Regions from separate parts of the Homo sapiens genome. Here regions 1, 3, 4 and 5 are each linked to region 2. The links are contacts of gene promoters, found by promoter capture Hi-C in human tissues and cell types (Jung and others, 2019). All regions are on one chromosome and are shown on one strand. The core of a region is centred on a gene start or on the middle of the fragment in contact, and the rest is flanking DNA. Distances in the headings are between cores, read along the strand shown.

Region 1 (3,262 bases), core at 124-2,623, 530 kb before region 2:
AGAGAGTGAATGAATGGTATGGTTTACTAAATTTCCAATGGAGGTGGACCCTCCCTAGAAGGAGGGCCCAATGAATAATGTAAAGAAAAATGGCTTGCCTTCTTGCTACCTGGCATAATCACAATTGGCCTGCAAGTATTGGGCAGAGAACTGTTTACAAGGCTACTCTCCCAGCTCCTAGTGCCACTAAACACTGGGAGCACACAATTTCATGATACAAAGCAGGAAAGGGCTTAAGAGACTCATGAGACTCAGACTTCTTAGACATCAAAACACTCTTATGAAATCATATTTTGATGAATGAAGGGTAAATTAGTAGGAAAGATGTGGATTAGGAGTCCCCTGGAGCACAATTTGGTTGAGAAACCAAGAGGCGAAGCATCTGCCTTCATGTAGTTGGAGTTTCTCAGACCAACGCATTCAAGTCTCACTTGCAGAAACGCCAAGCCTTCCTGTCACACCACCAGGCAGGCCAGTGAGGTCTTTAGTGATCCCCACTAGTGAGTCAGGGCCCAAATGCACATGACAGGGGCAGGTGCTCCAGGTAGTTTAGCTTTGCTTTGTTTATTTATTTATTTATTTATTATTATTTTTTTGAGACAGGGTCTTATTTTGTTACCCAGGCTGGAGTGCAGTGTCACGATCAGAGCTCACTGCAACCTCGAATTCCAGGACTCAAGCGATCATCCTGACTCAGCCTCCCAAACAGCTGGGACTACTGGCATGTGACAAAATGCCTAATTTTTTAATTTTTTGTAGACATGAGGTCTCGCTATGTTGCCCAAGCTGGTCTCGAACACCTGCTCAAGACATCCTCCTGCCTCAGCTTCCCAAAGTGCTGAGATTACAGGCATGAGCCACTGCGCCTGGCCCAGGTAATTTTTCTTAATGCATGGTGTGGCTTCACCAAGAATCCCTGGTGGGATCTGTTCCTGCAGGATCAGAGCTTGAGGCATTCAGTGCGGGCCCATTAGAGAAGACATTCCAGACTCTGTCAGGGGAGAAATTTTGATAGCATAATTGAATTCCAAGATGGGACCAGAAGGGTGAAAGGTGTAGAAATCAAGTCAGGGAGTGGAGAAGAGCAAAGAAGTTTGGCTCACAGAGGAGTCCATGGGTCTGGAGAAGCCGATCTTGCAGAAGTGTGCAAAGCTCTCCATCTGAGACAGTTTTGTGGTCTCTCGTGTCTGGCTTGTTGCATTCAGCATGATTCTCTACTGTTTATCTGCCTCTGACCCTCTCCCTCTTACCTGTGTACCCTCTGACACTCTTGAGATCATAGTGGAGAACACATCTCAGCGTTATAAGAGAGAATCCTTTTCTAAACTTCTCGACACGAGGTTATCTACTTTCTGCTTGGATTCGCTCATGGATGTGGAGATCACTCCCTCTCAAAGCAGCCCATTTCTTTTCTGCTCTCCTCTAATTATTAGAAAACTCTTGCTTGCACAGAGCTGAAATCTCATTCCCTAAAACATTGACCTTGTGGTCTGCGTCCTGCAGAAACACAGATTAGGTCTAAAAAATACATCTGCATGACGGACCTTCCACTTCTCTGTGAGCCCAACAGCCTTAATCCCTTCTGCTCCTTCCAATTGATTTCTAGACCTGCACCCTTCTGTGCATCTTGGAATTCACTTTAGCTTATCAAAGTCTTGCAAAACAATAATATCCCAAGCTGACTACTGCTGTAATAGGAAAACTGCATCCCTAAAACCCTTTGCAGTATTATTTTTTAATCACAATCTGTATAGGTCATTTCAATGAGAAAAAGTTGGTGGTGATGGTATGAGGGAGTGGTTAGAAGCTAGAGTTTCAGGCTCCCAGCTACAAAGTTGTTTATTTTCAGCAGGAATTTCAACAGCAAAGATGTCTTTGTAAGCTTATTTTGATTTTGCAACCTAAAAATAATAAACAGGTTTATCATAAATGGGAGGAGGGGGAAAGGAAACTAAACATTGAGCAAATTCTGAACTGCACGTAAGCCCAGACGAAAATCAACAAGTTCTGACGCTGGAAAAGTAAAAGGAAGCCAGCATTGACAACCATCAGTGAAAATCAAAGGAAAACAATGGCCCCGAGTGGTCGCTGTGTGCTCTGGGCTGACTGCTGCACACCAGGCTATCTCCCAGTTGAGACCACACTATCAGCCCATAGCATGCTCAGAAGTCACATAAAGCAAAAATACACTCTAATGAACTGATTTCTTCTATCCAGTTCACATGATGAAAACTTGTCTGGTAGAAAGAAAAATCTTGTCATTGAGCTGTGATTTTAACATCAAAAGATACAGCATCTTTAGCCAGGCATGGCAGTGCATGCCTGTAGTCTCAGCTACTCAGGAGGCTGAGATGGGAAGATCGCATGAGACCAGGAGTTGGAGGCCAGCCCGGGCAATATAGTGAGAACCCATCTCTACAAAAAGTGAAAAAACAGCTGGGCATGGTGACAGGTGCCTGAAGTCTCAGCTACTCAGGAGACTAACTGCATCCCTAAAACCCTCTGAGATGGGAGGATCACCTGAGCCCAGGAGTTTGAGGCTGCAGTGAGCTACGATCATACCACTGCATTCTAACCTGGGCAACAGAGCAAGACTCCATCTTTTAAAGAAAAAATTAAAAATAAAGGAAAAAATAATAAAAAGAGATATAGAATCAGTCACGTCCCCCATTCTAAATCTTTTTCTATCAGTGAAGCCTCATTTCTTAGGAAGCACTCTTGCCGCATCCTGGTGTAAAGACAGCAACTTTAAGATGCACTGGGCAAAGCCACCTGTGCCTGTCACTGCCCACCCCACACCCCGCCTTTAAGCATATTCCCCTCAGCCTTGATCATGCTTTGGTACCCTGTGGTCAATACTTCTTATACCATATGTTGATAACTGGGAGAACCACAAAGAAACAGAGTTTTCATATGAGGTTAAGTAGTGCTTTAACTGGAAGTTACTGTAAGTGGGTTCAATGTACATTGACCCAGTTAAGTTTGGGAACTCTAACTGCAGGCTGAAATTGAAATTGCTTTCCCATGCTCTCTGTGAGCGGCTGCTGAGAACCAGGACAAGTGTGTCTAGCTCAGGGTTTTCCCTCCATCTTTCCACTGGATTGAAAGCCATTGAAATGGGCTCTCCTCTCGCATCCCCACACTTCAGAAATGATTGAAGTTCTGGTCTTAGTAACCACCTAGATTTGGTATTTCAGAAATCAGGGATCTCAAAGGCAGATGATGACTTGGGGAAATGGCCTCAGGATATGAAATGCAGAAA
Region 2 (3,169 bases), core at 631-3,130:
GGAACAATGCCCTTCTGTTTCTGTCCCCTTCTCGTTACTGTATGTAGTGATTAAACAAAAATGTCTGCTTTAGTCAAGATGGCTACAGGAGAGACTGCTGGCTTCTTTTAAAGCTTTTGAAGTCCGCAGCCGTCAGAAATCTCTGATCCCCTAATTATATCATTATCAGGCACATAGTTTCGGTATCTGTGACTTCATGTCAGCCTCAGTCCCTCCCTGTTCTGCCCGCCTTTGATAGGGCCAGGAGGCTCCCCTCTGCAAGCCACAAGGGCTGTTATTTAGGGTTAATTACACCCTTCCTTCCAAAATAAATAAATACTGTAGCACATCATCCTCGCTGGGCTAGCTTATGCTTTAACCTCATGCCTGCTACATAGCAATTAAAGAGAAGTAGGGGGCTGCAAAGACTAAACTGCTTCCTACTTAAAAAAATTATCTGTTCACAGAACAGTAGGTAGATTTCACAGCAGGGAGGTGAGGAGAACCTTGAAATTCGGAGACAGTTCGGGTTATTTCTTTCTAAAAGGTGAAAGCCTGCAGAGGAAAGAAGAAACTGACCCGCTGCCTTTTTTTTTTTTTTGGTCCTGTTTGTAAAATATGAGGTGAGTGGCAGTGAGACGCTGACAGAGCCTACTCCTCCCGGCTGCTGAAAAGCAACACAACACACACTTCTGCACACCTCGGACACCTAAACTCTCAGGGAGACCCACACACTCGCTCGCACACAGAGAGATGTACGCAGAGACACACTCACACAGAGACTCAGATGCACATTCAGAGATACAAAGACACTTAGAGACAGACACAGAAATGCATTCAGAAAGACACACTCAAGATCAGAGATACAGAGACTCACACATTCAGAGACACAAAGACTCAGAAAGAGACACAGAAATGCATTCAGAGATACATTCAAAGAGACACAGAGATACGCTGAGTGATACAGAGGTTCAGACACACTTTCAGAAACACAACGACACTCAGAGACACAAAAATGCATTTAGGGATACTGAGACTCAGAGACACACTCACAGAAATACACCCTGAGGCACTCACACAGACACGCTGAGGGCACGCGGCAGCTACAGGCCAGGATCTGCGATTCCTCCCGGCCGCCCGAGCCCCCAGGGTGCGGAAGCGGCGGCGTCGAGGCCGAGACTCCGGCCCCGCTCCCCGCTGGGCTGCAAACGCGCCGCTCCCCGCAGGCAGAGCCAGGAGGACCCTCTGATCAGCGCCTGCCCTTAGATCGGAGTCCGCATCCACGCGCCAGGCCACCGCCGCGACTTCTAAGAACACAGCAACTTGTCGCGACCTGCGGCTCCGGCGCAGGAGGGAGCCTCGCCTGCCGCTAACAAAGCCTCTGCAGCCGGCTCCAAAGCCCCGCGGCGAGGACGGGACCCCGGGCCCCGTGCGCCCCCGGCACCCACCTTTGGTGAGCAGCACGGCCATGGCGCAGAGCTCCAGCTGCAGCCAGATGAAGATGTAGCTGGAGTGGCGATCCATTGACGCCCCGCACGGCCGCGGCGCCCCCGCCGGCTTCCGGAGCCCCGGCTCGGCGGCAGCCTACGACCCCCGGAGCGCGCAGGGCATGGGCCCTGCCCGGAGCGGCGGGCGCCGTCAGCGGCGGGGCTGGGTTTCGGGCCGCTGCCGGAGCATGGAGCGCGGCTACAGGGCGCGCCCAGGAGCCCAGAAAAGTTTCCCGGTCCCCCGTCGGCGGCCACTGGCTCCCTTGCCCCGCTCGACTCTAGGGACGCACGCTAGCCCCGGGTCGGGAGTGGGCTCCCGGCCTTCAGTCCCCGCTAGCGGCCGTTCTCAGCGAAGAGAGTAGGGTCTCCACAGCACGCAAGGGTATCCGCCGCAGCTCCCGCCCGCGCCAGCCCAGGTCTCTCCGGCTCCGCGCCGTAAATAGCGCCCCGCGCCGGGAGCCGGCCTGCACCGCCCCGCCTCGCCCCGCCCCACGGCGTCCGATTGGCCGCCGGGCTCCTGTCAATCCGCCCCGCAGCGGGGGGCGGGCCCAGACGCGAGCGCTGGGGGACCTGCCCGGCGGCTCCGAGCGGCGCCGGCGTCTGGGGCGCCCGGCTGGGGCGCCCGGCTGGTGCGCTGCCGTCTCCCGCGCTCCCCCTTGCGGAGGCCTGCGCGTCAGTGACCTTCGCGAGGCGCCGGGGGAGCCCAGCCCCGGGACCGGCTCGGGAACCCGCCTCCGAGACCCTGACGGCTCAGCCTCGGGTGGTCAGCGTTCCCCAGCGCGGGGCTTCTTTTGGGTGCCCCCCGAAACACGCAGGGGGTCCGTGTGGTCGTCCTCCCCGGCCGCACTGCGTTTTCTGGAACCCCCAGGGGCGAGTGACAATGCCCCGGCCTGTGCAGGTGGCGGAGGAGGGTTCGGGTGGGAGCCCGGGGGAGGCGGCCCAGCGCTGGGGTCTGCATTCAGCCTTCGCCCCCCACCCCCTCAGCGTGTCCGCCTCGAGCTGCCCGCCATGGGATCAATAAAGCCCAGACAGACTGACTGTTGATCCGTTAGGAGCCGCTAGGTTCTCCCGGGTACGCGGGACGAGTAGCGGGCTAGAGACACTTAACGAAAATTAGCAAATCCAAAAGCACCCGGCGCCAACGAGACGACACTGGCCGAGACTGACACTCAATTAACCACCCCCCAAACAATGGCTGGCAAACACGCCGGCTGACCCTGATCAATATCAGCCCCGCAGTGATCTCCTCCTTGAGATGCTAATTCATTTATTAGGGATCGCGGGGCTGCCCTTCCCAAGGTACTCAAGGTGGTCTTGCTGTAGTTTTGTTTCCCCCTCCGCTTTGGAAGGAATTAAGGTTAAAACTCATTATCTGAGGGAATGTTCTTTTATCCTCTCCCTCCAAAACCTGAGATGAACAAAAGTCGACCATTTGCAAAATTCTTCTTGAGAATCTGCCAGAGCTTCCCTACCGGATATGTCAAAAGGGGGTGGGGGGTGGGGAAGGAAAGAAAGAGAAGCACATTTCATGCTAAGGTGAGAATTATAAAGACAAATCCTTTAGGACTAGAGTGCAGACATGAGCTTTGAGACTAAGAAAAATGTACATATGTCTTGAGGACTGAAAGTCAAGGCGAACATATCTCAAACGCCTAACCTTTTAAAGTTGTTGAAAGTCTGCAGAGCTGCAGGATGTAGTTAAT
Region 3 (3,120 bases), core at 600-3,099, 650 kb before region 2:
CATTAATCAATAGCAAAATCCATGGCTATTTTAAAATAACATTTAAAAATAGGCACAAATAATGTTGATGGAGGAAATACTGCCATCCCTTGTTGAGAGATCAGCTTTGAATGTCTTCTTCTCTCAGAAAAATCTTCACTCTCTCCAAAATTAGTATCATCCATTAGGATAGAGCTAGGAACTATAACTGAAAAAAAAAAAAAAACTGGAGCCAGTGTTCTAAACAAGTCTTCCATTTGTTCTTTATCTGAAGTCTAGGCTTTCCTGATGAACAGGCTAAGGTTTTGGTGTGTTATCTTTTCTGCCACTGGAAAAACCAGACAGGAATGAAATGTATGTTGAGTATTTATTGAACATCAGAAACTATGTTCATTTGTTCATATTCACATTTGTTTCTTTAATCCTAAGAATAATGCCATGAGTTAAGTATCTTACTTTACAGAGGAGTCAACTGCAGAGATTAAACTAATTTCCATCACACAGTTAGCAAGTGAATGAATCTAGAACTTGAAACCAAGTCTCTGATTCCGAAGTTCAGTGTTCATTCCATTAACCCATGGTGCTAACAGAGAGGAAGATATGGGACTTTCTTTTCACTTCATTGAATTATTTTATGTAAGGATGTGTGTATGTAGTGTTTGAGTGTTTGATAATTGACAAAACCTGGATGCTACAATAATAAGAGGGGAAGGAAGAGGGAGAAAGAGAAAGAAGAATATGGTGGAAAATACAGACAGGCATAGATACACACGCGCACTCCATGTTCCTTTGACCTCAGCCAGCCGGTGGGTGGAGGCATTGCAAAGAAGTGGGTCTTTTGAAAGACATTGACATTAGAAAGGTTGTCAACAAACCTTCTGACAGCTGTTTGCTAATTATTACTTCTAGGGGAAAAGTGTGAATGTAAGTTGTGTCTGAATGTTTTGTTGGAAAAAAATCTGGAATGCATAGTTCCATTCTCCTCTATAATCATAAATGGATTTTCTTGCAATTGTATTTTCTCTTGCTAATGAATAGTAAACAACACTGATTATAGGAGTTATCTAATTCTTGGTGCCCCCCTTGCTGTGGCCTCCCATCACTGCCAAATCCCCTTCTCTCTCTTCACACACACACACACACACACACACGCACACACACACACACACAGAGAGAGAGAGAGATCAACACATAAATCAGCAAGCCATGTTGACCCTTACGCAATGCCATGTGCTGTGAAAAGCACCGGGAATACAGTTCATACAATTAAGGGCCAATTATGTGCTTATTGGCTCTTGACCTAAGAGGAGACACAACGTCTTCAGGGCAGGAATTGTGTTAATGCTCTGTTGTTCTCAGGGGCCTCATAGAGAGCTCTGTTTCACTTGGGGAGAATTTAGAAAGCAGAGCGCCCTTAATATCTATTTCAAATAGAAGTAAATGCACTGAGTATAAAATTAACTTTCTCTCAAGTGGTGGTTACACAGCTAGGCAAGATTGGTTCAGAATAATGAGAGCCAATTGGCTTTGCAAAAATGGGAGGAGGTGGGGGAGACCAAAATGTGGGTGATGTTTGGGGCAGTAGATGGAAGGTGCTGCTGAGCTGCTGCAGAGATGACCTGGGGTAAGCAGTAGACCACGAGCATGCAGCTCACTCAGGAATGTGGGAAGTCATCCCAGGCATCTTCTCTGTTCTCATTTGGAAAGCACGCCAGGGCAATGGCAGTTGCCAGAGTTTTAGGTCATGACTGCTTCCATAAGAAATATTATGATTATCCATATTCCAAATTATCCTTCAGTACGAATGGTAGACATCAAACAAACCACCTCATTTTAAGGTGGAGTCACATAAGTTTCACAGCTGCTAACCAACTGTTTGAAGACTTTCAGGGATGGTTCCCTCTTTTTTTTTTTTTTTTTTGAAAAGAAGTCTCACTCTGTCACCCAGGCTGGAGGACAATGGCGCGATCTTGGCTCACTGCAACCTCTGCCTCCTAGGTTTAAGTGATTCTCCTGCCTCAGGCTCCTGAGTAAGTAGGATTAAAGGCATCTGCCATCATGCCTGGCTATTTTTTGTATTTTTGTAGAGACGGGGTTTCACCATGTTGATCAGGCTGGTCTTGAACTCCTGACCTCAGGTGATCTGCCTGCTTCGGCCTCCCAAAGTGCTGTGATCACAGGCGTGAGCCACTGTTCCCAGCTGTCTTTTTTAAAATATATTTTTTTTAAATAGAGAAGGAGATCTTGCTATGTTACCCAGTCTGGTCTTGAACTCTTGGCTTCAAGCAATCCTCCTGCTTCAACCTCCCAAAGTGTTGTGATTATAGATATGAGCCACTGACCCCCACCAGGGATGGTCCTCTCTTGATACTACCTCAGATCTTTGAGCTGAAGAATAAGAAAAGGAAGAGTGTGAGGAGGCGTGAAGAAGTGGATAGATGCTGGGCATCTTATCTCATCCCTGAGGTCCAGGGAAAAACAGGCTTCAAAGTCAAAAGGATACATGGATGCAAGTTCTGGTTCTGCCCTTTACCACCTGCAAGGTCTTTCCAAGCTTCCTGAATGTCTACAGCCTTAGACTCCTCCTATGTAGGGTGAGTTGTCTGAGAAATAAAGGTAATGTATGAAAGATTCCTGGTATAGTGAGTTCTTAGTTATATGTAGCTACTATTATTATTTTATAAATGTTTCAAACATTGATGTTGGTGGTCACTATAGCAATATCTCACCGCCTTAGGACTCTCAGAAGTTCCTGTAGCTCAGATGTCCCAACCCCCAATTACAGAAATGCTGGCATGGAGCAGGTCATTGGATAAAGACCTCAGTTTCTCCAGTTGCCTCTCCATAAGGGGAGGGCTGAGTATATACGTGGCCAATAAACGGCAACATCTATTACTAACCCAAAGAAGCAAACGATTCACATGACTGCATTGGAATGGAGGTTACAGAACTGAAATAGGAGAAAGCACAAGCAAATTTCTTATGCCCTCAGATTCAGCACGGAATATGCTGTCTCAACCCGCTTGTCCGTGGACAGCCTTGACTGTCTCCTGGGGAAGAATATGAAGAAGCTTTCCTTTAGAAGATGCCATCAGGGAAGACTGGACTAAATCAACAGTTGGAGAAATAATGATGTGTAAA
Region 4 (3,640 bases), core at 232-2,731, 790 kb before region 2:
CACCCAGAACATGTGCTTACACTCTTTTCATCCTCACCCCTACACCAAAAGGAAGGAGAGTGAAATCAGCCACACTTTATAGCATAAGGAACGAGACTCAAGTCACTTAACCCACCCAAAGACGTCAGCTAAGAACAGGTTGAGCACCACAGCGGCAGGCCTGGCGTCTCCGCTCTTTTCCCAGCCTTCCTCTCAGTCTTGTTGCTGCATGGTCACCCGTCGACTGCCATTGCTCCAGCCATTATGTTTGCATTCAAGATAGAAAGAGAAAGAAAGGGGAAGGAAAAAAGCCCACCTAATAGCCACTCTCTCTCTTTAATCAGATAAAGCACGTGTTTTCCCAGAAGCCCCCAGCAGACTTCTGCTTACATCCCATTGGCCGGAGCCTGTCACATGGCCAGCCCCAGCTGCAAGGGAGCCTGGGGAAGCAAATGGCAGAGGAGAAGGATGTTGGGGTATTGGCTAAGTTAGCCAGGGAACAGGGTCTGCCATACCAAGTCTCCACAGCAGAGCCAAGACTCCAGCCCAGGTCTTCTGATCCCAAGGTCAGGGCTCTGTGCCCTCATTCTGGTTGGGAAAGTAACAAGAGACTGGGCTTGACAACCCCTCCCACCCACCCTCCAATGAAGCCAAGGTCAGCTGCCTCTCAGTTTGTGTTTGTTGCTTCTCACATTACAAGAGCCTGGAGCTGCAGCCAGGGACCTCATCTTGCACCGGGATCTCAGGGCAGCACTGAAAGTTTGCCCAGTGCACATGTCATGCTTGGAAAATCAGCCACCAGTAAGAGAGGGTGTGCCCACGCCCTTCATCCTGGGGCTCAGGGCGGGTTATCAACCTCCACTGGGCTTTTAAAGTGTGGTTTTCACAGAATCCTGAAATGCATGTCAGGAAAGGACTTACAGTGAGCCGACTAGCAAGAGTGAGAGGCATTTTGCCACCTGGAGTAAGAGTCAGACTGACAATTTGAGGAGGAGAAAAAGGTAGGAGGAAAAGGCAGTAGAACAGTTTTGATTTTTATTTCCTTTTATTTTATTTTTTAGAGACAGGGTCTTACTCTGTCATCCAGGCTGGAGTGCAGTGGCGCAGTCATGGCTCACTGCAGCCTCTAACTCTTGGGCTCAAGCGATCCTCTCTCCTTAGCTTCCTGAGTAGTGGAGACTACATGCATGCAGCACCATGCCTCGCTAATTTTTTTTTTCTTTTTGTAGAGATAGGGTCTCATCATGTGGCCCAGGCTGGTCTTCAACCTCCGGGCTCAAGCAGTCCTTCCTCCTCAGCCTCCCAAAGCACTGGGATTACAGGCATGAGCCACCACTCCCGGTGGCAGTTTTGCTTTTTAAGGCCCATTTCTCTGTAAGAGAGCCATGAGCTCACCTCACTGCTAAGCAATCGCGTGCAGGGCAGGAACGCCACTGACCTGTCTGCAGTGAGATGTGCGCTCCAGTGTTGATTGTGCTCTTTGGAGATATGCGGTGCTAACAGCCCCTTGAGTGGCACATGCATTATCCCTTCCACTCTTAGCACAGCCCTGCCAGTATCCAGAAGGGCCAGGGCCTTGAGCTGGGGCAAAGGGAGGAGGACCTGGAGGACGAGGAATGAAAAAGACCAACTCCTTGACACCACTTCTCTCTGCCTACAGGCTTCTCCCCGTTGAACTGTCAAAGGGCTGGGGTATCCTGGGTTTCTCTGTTTGCCCCTTTGCCCCTGGTTTGATGGCCAAGGGGGTTTCCCCCTGTGACACTGCAGTCAAGAGGGACAACATCCACTAGGTTGGGGGAGGAGTGAGCTAGAAGTGTCCGTGAAGGAGCTCCTGATGGTCTGGCCCTGTCCCTGCCCTCACAGCACTTTTCCTTGTTGACAATCACCACGAGGTGTACCTCTGGCAAGGCTGGTGGCCCATCGAGAACAAGATCACTGGTTCCGCCCGCATCCGCTGGGCCTCCGACCGGAAGAGTGCGATGGAGACTGTGCTCCAGTACTGCAAAGGTGAGGCTCCCTCTAACATGCCTGCAGCACGGAACAGATGGGGAAGCCCCTCAGGCATGCGCAGCCAGGAGACCCCCTTCCCCTTCTGTGCATGTCAGCCAGCATCCATCCATAAAGCCTGGCAGGTGGTGATGAAACCAATTTTTTCCCCTTTAACTTTTTGAGATGTATTAAGTTTTAGATTAGCGCATTCTCAGCTGCCAGCATGAAGAAGAACTAGTTTTTCTCTCTGATATTATGAGGCTAACTTGTTACCCTCAAGGATAAAGGCTGTATTGTGGAATGCCCCAGGCAGATTAAAACCCCGCTGTACTCGGGGTTGATCATGCTGAGAGACAAGTTGGCCTCTGCCCTGTACATTATCTGCAAGCACTACCACGCTGTTGGAGAATGGAGGTCTCCCCCAAACAGTGAACGGCCATTGCCAACCTTTTTATTATTCATTATTATTTTTAGTATTATATCCAAAGAGAAATACCCATAGTAAGTTCATGGTTCTTTACTATACACATGAAATTTCTAGTCTTTTATATAAAATGAAAATGCCAGTAATTAATCTTATTTAATTTTTATGGTTTCATTGACACAACTAGTTTAATGTCACTGAGTATGTGCAATGGATTCTCTTCCTGAAAAACTCTTTAGCAATAAATAACATATGAAACCTTCCACTCAATGTTATAGTGAATGTGGATGTATAAGATGCTGTCGTTCGCCGTCAGTCATTATGGGAGTTAATCCTGTGCTAGGAAATGAGACGGATGACTCTACAGGTGAATTCAGGAGGAAGAAAATGCTCCACCCAGAAGCTGCAGACAGAGCCTCTCTCTCCCTTCCAGGAATACACAGCGTTTTGTTAGGTTCAAGAAGTATAGACTCAGGTTGATTATAGGTCACTATGGTAGTCACAGGCATGAAACTAACAAACATCTTATATAAACATTATCCATGTGTTGTTATGAACTACTGGTAACTTGCATTTTAAGCATGAAGTCATGAGTTCTGGCAAAGAAGAAAAGATTTCAAGGGAAATCAGAGAAAGACAGGGTCTCCCTGGGGTCTACTGACATTGCAATCTGTGTAACTACAGGAAAAAATCTCAAGAAACCAGCCCCCAAGTCTTACCTTATCCACGCTGGTCTGGAGCCCCTGACATTCACCAATATGTTTCCCAGCTGGGAGCACAGAGAGGACATCGCTGAGATCACAGAGATGGTGAGCACGCTTTCCTGCCCTATGAAGGTGGCTCCTGCGCCTTTTGGATTGTGGGTTAACTTTACTTTGGGGAGAGCATCCAATTGCACTTTCAGAGTGGGAAAATATTTTTCCTTTTGCAACATCTTAACAAACCTACATAGAATTTGCTTAGGAAGAAGAGAAGTCTAATGGAAAATCAATTAACTATTTTAGTAATTTTCTACACGATACCCAAATTTTAAAAACTTAAAAGCAAAGGTGAGTTGAATCATGTTGAGGACTATATATGTACATAAAAGCTGCGAACTCTTCATTCTGTTTGCTAAGAACCTGTTGCTTGGCATTGCTTGTCTCTCAGTGTCCATGTGACGCACAACCAAACCCTCATGTTTCAGATGTTAACCTTGTGTAGAGGAGACACAAACGAAATCTGATGAATTAGTATGTTCAGAAAACT
Region 5 (3,530 bases), core at 585-3,084, 670 kb before region 2:
CAGCCTGAGCAACAGAGTGAGATCTTGTCCCAGAAAAAAAAAAAAAAAAAGAATAAAACCTTAGCATGTGCTCTCTTCCATGAACTTTCTGTTTCCAGGTATCATTTCTTAGCTTTTCTCAGTTCTGAGCCAGTTCCAGAGCATCTGGGCCAGTTCCAGAGCAGCAGTGGCAGTTGGCTTTCTTTTGGGCATCATATTTTTCCTATTATACTTTACTAATCCATTAGTAGTGAAAACCACATGCCACTCTTCCATGCTTGCACACACACCCAAACTCTGTAGAACTGCCGAGTGGCCCATTTCTCCGATTCTTACATTATTCTACAAAATATATTCATGGCAGGCTTAAAGTGCACTGTATGTCTTGAATTACATGTCGACTTGGAAAGTTGATATATGTGCTTTTACTGTGTGTGGTGTCCACAAGAACAGAAGCAGGAGCAACAGTGGTATATAGGTTTTGTGGTACTTTTTATTGAAATGTAATATACATACGGAAATGAGCACACATCGTAGTCTCAATGAATTTTCACAAACTGAACACATCCATAAAACCAGAACCCAGAGCAAGAAATACAATGTTACCAGTTCTCTTTTGTGTTATCTCCCAGGCACTAATCCTAAGTGGGGTAATCATTATCCTGTCTGTTTGTGTACTTTATAGAAATGGAATCATGCAGTGTATACCAGACTTTTAATGTCTGGTTTCTTTTCCTCCATAGTATGGCTGTCATATTCATCCATATTTTTGTGAGTACGTGATTCTTTCTCACTGTTGTACAGTATAGGTTGAACATCCCAAATCTGAAAATCTGAAGTCCAAAATGCTGCAAAATCTGAAACTTGTTGAGCACCCACATGATGCTGAAAGGAAATGCTCATTGGAGCATTTAGATTGAGATTGAGATTTCAGATTTTTGGATTTGGCATGTTCCACCAGTGAGTTTAATGCAACTATTCCAAGACCTGAAAAATTAAAAATCTGAAACATTTCTGGTCCCAAGCACTTGGATAAGGGATACTCAACCTGTATTCCATTGTGTGAATATCGCGTAATGTATTCATTCATGCTACCATTGCCGTGCACCTGGGTAATTTTCAGTTTTTAGCTCCAATGAACAGCACTCCTAAAAAAATTCAGGTAAGTGTTTATTAGTGAACACATTTCTGTTGGGCATGAAAACCCAGAGTGGAGTTGCTGAGTCGAAGGGTATGTATATGTTAGCTTTAGTAATAATTTCCAAACCATTTTCCTAAGGGTTTGTACCAATTAGCACTCTAATGAATAGTGTGGGAGTGTTCAAGTTGTTACATATTCTTGCCAATATTTGGCAATTTTAATTTAAATTTTAGCCATTTTGGTAGTGTGGAATTGCATCTCTATGATTTCAATGTGCATTTCCTTGATTACAAACAAAATTGAGCATTTTTAATATGTTTACTAGCCATTTGAATATTACTCTCATTTATGAAGTGGCATTTCAAGCATTTTGTCCATTTTCTACTGGGCTGACTTTTTTTTTAACTTCAATCAACAATGATTTTATTTGATCTTATTCATCAGTTCCTTTTTTTGTCTTCCAATTTTTATTTTAAGTTCAGGGGTACGTGTGCAGGTAAATGTGTGCCATGGTGGTTTACTACACAGATCATCCCATCATCCAGGTATTAAGCCCTGCATCAATTGGTTATTCTTCCTGATGCTCTCCCTTCCTGCCCCTACAGATGCCCAGTGTGTGTTTTTCCCCACCACAGGTCCATGTGTTCTCATCAATCAGCTCCTACTTATAAGTGAGATCATGCAGTGTTTGGTTTTCTGTTCCTGCATTAGTTTGCTGAGAATAATGGCTTCCGACTCCATCCATGTCCCTGCAACATGATCTCATTCCTTTTTTTGGCTGCATAGTATTCCATGATGTATATGTACCACATTTTCTTTATCCAGTCTATCACTGATAGGCATTTAGGTTGATTCCATGACTTTGCTATTGTAAATAGTGCTATATGTGTGCATGTATCTTTATACTAGAAGGATTGATTTATATTCCTTTGGGTATATACTGAGCTGACTTTTAGTAAATTGACTTGGCTAGGCATGGTGGCTCATGCCTGTTATTCCAGCACTTTGGGAGGCCAGGGCAGGGAGGATTGCTTGAGGCCAGGAGTTTGAGAACAGCCTGGGCAACATAGTGAGACCTCATTTTTATAAAAGCAATTAAAAATTAACTTGTTCATATATTTTGTGTATTTTTTTTCTGAGACAGAGTCTCACTCTGTTGCCCAGGCTGGAATGCAGTGGCATGATCTTGGCTCACTGCAAGCTCCACCTCCTGGGTTCAAGCGATTCTCCTGCCTCAGCCTCCTGAATAGCTGGGATTACAGGTGCCCACCACCACACCCAATTAATTTTTATACTTTTAGTAGAGATGGGGTTTCACCATGTTGGCCAGGCTGGTCTTAAACTCCTGCCTGGCTCTACTGCAGTGTAGACTTTGTCTTAAGCAGATCATCATGTGGCAAAGCGGTGATTCCACATGCACTCTGGCCTTCTTCTGAATGGCTGTCGGTGGAGCCTGAGACCTTGTGAAATCAATAATGTGGCCAAGGTCCAAGGCGAGGAAAGTGAAGGCTGCTGGCAAAGATGTCTTGGTGCAAACAGATGGGGTCTGAGCGTCCACCCTTCTCTTCCTGGGTTTGCATCCTGAAACTTCCTGTGGTGAGCTCCCCAGCTTTCGTATTATGGAAGTAGATTCCTCAGATATAAACAAGTCCTTGTCTGGAAAGAAGTCACTTAGTGGGCCTGAGAATGGAGCACAAGTAGACCCATCAGCACAGAGCCACTCTACAGACCAAGAACGACCTCGCAAGGCACCGCACGACCGGCACTTGGCTTCCTAGTAAAAGCAGGACCCTGCATGTTCCTCTACATCTTATACCATTTATGCTTAAGGGGTTATATTTTTTTTCTGGGGTCAGTTAAATCACTTTCTCTTCCCACTGTGGTAAACCCCAAAGAGCCTCCTGATAATTAATTTTTGTTTTATTGCTAGATTGCTCTGCTCTGCTAGAATGTAAATTCTATAAGAGCAGGGACCTTGTCTGTCATAGTCACTCAGTAACTATCACAGCTAGTGAAGAATGAATGAATGAATGAAAACTAGGCTAGCCTGATGAGTAGATAAGAAGGAAGCATTGCTATGAGGAAGAGCCACGGAACAAAGAAGGAATTGAAGGATGATATTGACGCTCTCACGGAAAATTTTCTGCTAGAGAACCCCTAGGAGCTCATCTCACCTGAGAAGAGCCTAGGATAAGATGATCAATGTCAGCAAAAGTTGTATGGAAATGGGACCCAGATGGTTTACTCTTTAAACTGTCACAGCAATAGCATCACATACTTTAGGGGATGTTGGTAGGATAGCAATCTGGGTAGAGTGATTGGAAAAGTGGGATATGATTTATTTTTCTTTGTTTTAGCCTGTCTGTGATGATTACCCTGACAATTGTCTCAGAAACTCTTAAAACTCTCT

The links. The method cuts DNA at HindIII sites, captures the fragments that hold promoters and counts their contacts. A contact is called where the count stands out against the background at its distance.
Region 1: a contact is called between a fragment that was not itself captured here and the fragment with the promoter of BAMBI in region 2, in 2 of the 25 tissues and cell types used here (dorsolateral prefrontal cortex and lymphoblastoid cells).
Region 3: a contact is called between a fragment that was not itself captured here and the fragment with the promoter of BAMBI in region 2, in 2 of the 25 tissues and cell types used here (H1 embryonic stem cells and dorsolateral prefrontal cortex).
Region 4: a contact is called between a fragment that was not itself captured here and the fragment with the promoter of BAMBI in region 2, in 1 of the 25 tissues and cell types used here (mesendoderm cells).
Region 5: a fragment that was not itself captured here is called in contact with the fragment with the promoter of BAMBI in region 2 in 4 of the 25 tissues and cell types used here (H1 embryonic stem cells, dorsolateral prefrontal cortex, mesenchymal stem cells and 1 more).

The regions. Positions count from the first base shown.
Region 1 is chr10:29,204,637-29,207,898 of GRCh38, reverse strand. No RefSeq gene overlaps it. Among named protein-coding and RNA genes, the nearest start is that of LYZL1, 83 kb to the left of the region's middle. RefSeq lists a silencer at 855-1,085. The HindIII fragment of the contact is 3,136 bases long and covers 1-2,941 here.
Region 2 is chr10:28,676,232-28,679,400 of GRCh38, reverse strand. It overlaps BAMBI (BMP and activin membrane bound inhibitor), which reads right to left and starts at 1,880. Exons shown (of 3, transcript NM_012342.3): 1 at 1,428-1,880. The coding sequence starts at 1,503. RefSeq lists silencers at 983-1,127, 1,853-2,412. The HindIII fragment of the contact is 33,369 bases long and covers 1-3,169 here.
Region 3 is chr10:29,327,701-29,330,820 of GRCh38, reverse strand. No RefSeq gene overlaps it. Among named protein-coding and RNA genes, the nearest start is that of LYZL1, 40 kb to the right of the region's middle. The HindIII fragment of the contact is 5,763 bases long and covers 1-3,120 here.
Region 4 is chr10:29,461,838-29,465,477 of GRCh38, reverse strand. SVIL (supervillin) reads left to right here. Exons shown (of 38, transcript NM_021738.3): 35 at 1,843-1,986; 36 at 3,077-3,201. The region is part of intron 2 of SVIL-AS1 (SVIL antisense RNA 1); the gene reads right to left. Among named protein-coding and RNA genes, the nearest start is that of SVIL-AS1, 54 kb to the right of the region's middle. The HindIII fragment of the contact is 8,599 bases long and covers 1-3,640 here.
Region 5 is chr10:29,348,064-29,351,593 of GRCh38, reverse strand. No RefSeq gene overlaps it. Among named protein-coding and RNA genes, the nearest start is that of SVIL-AS1, 60 kb to the left of the region's middle. The HindIII fragment of the contact is 9,519 bases long and covers 1-3,530 here.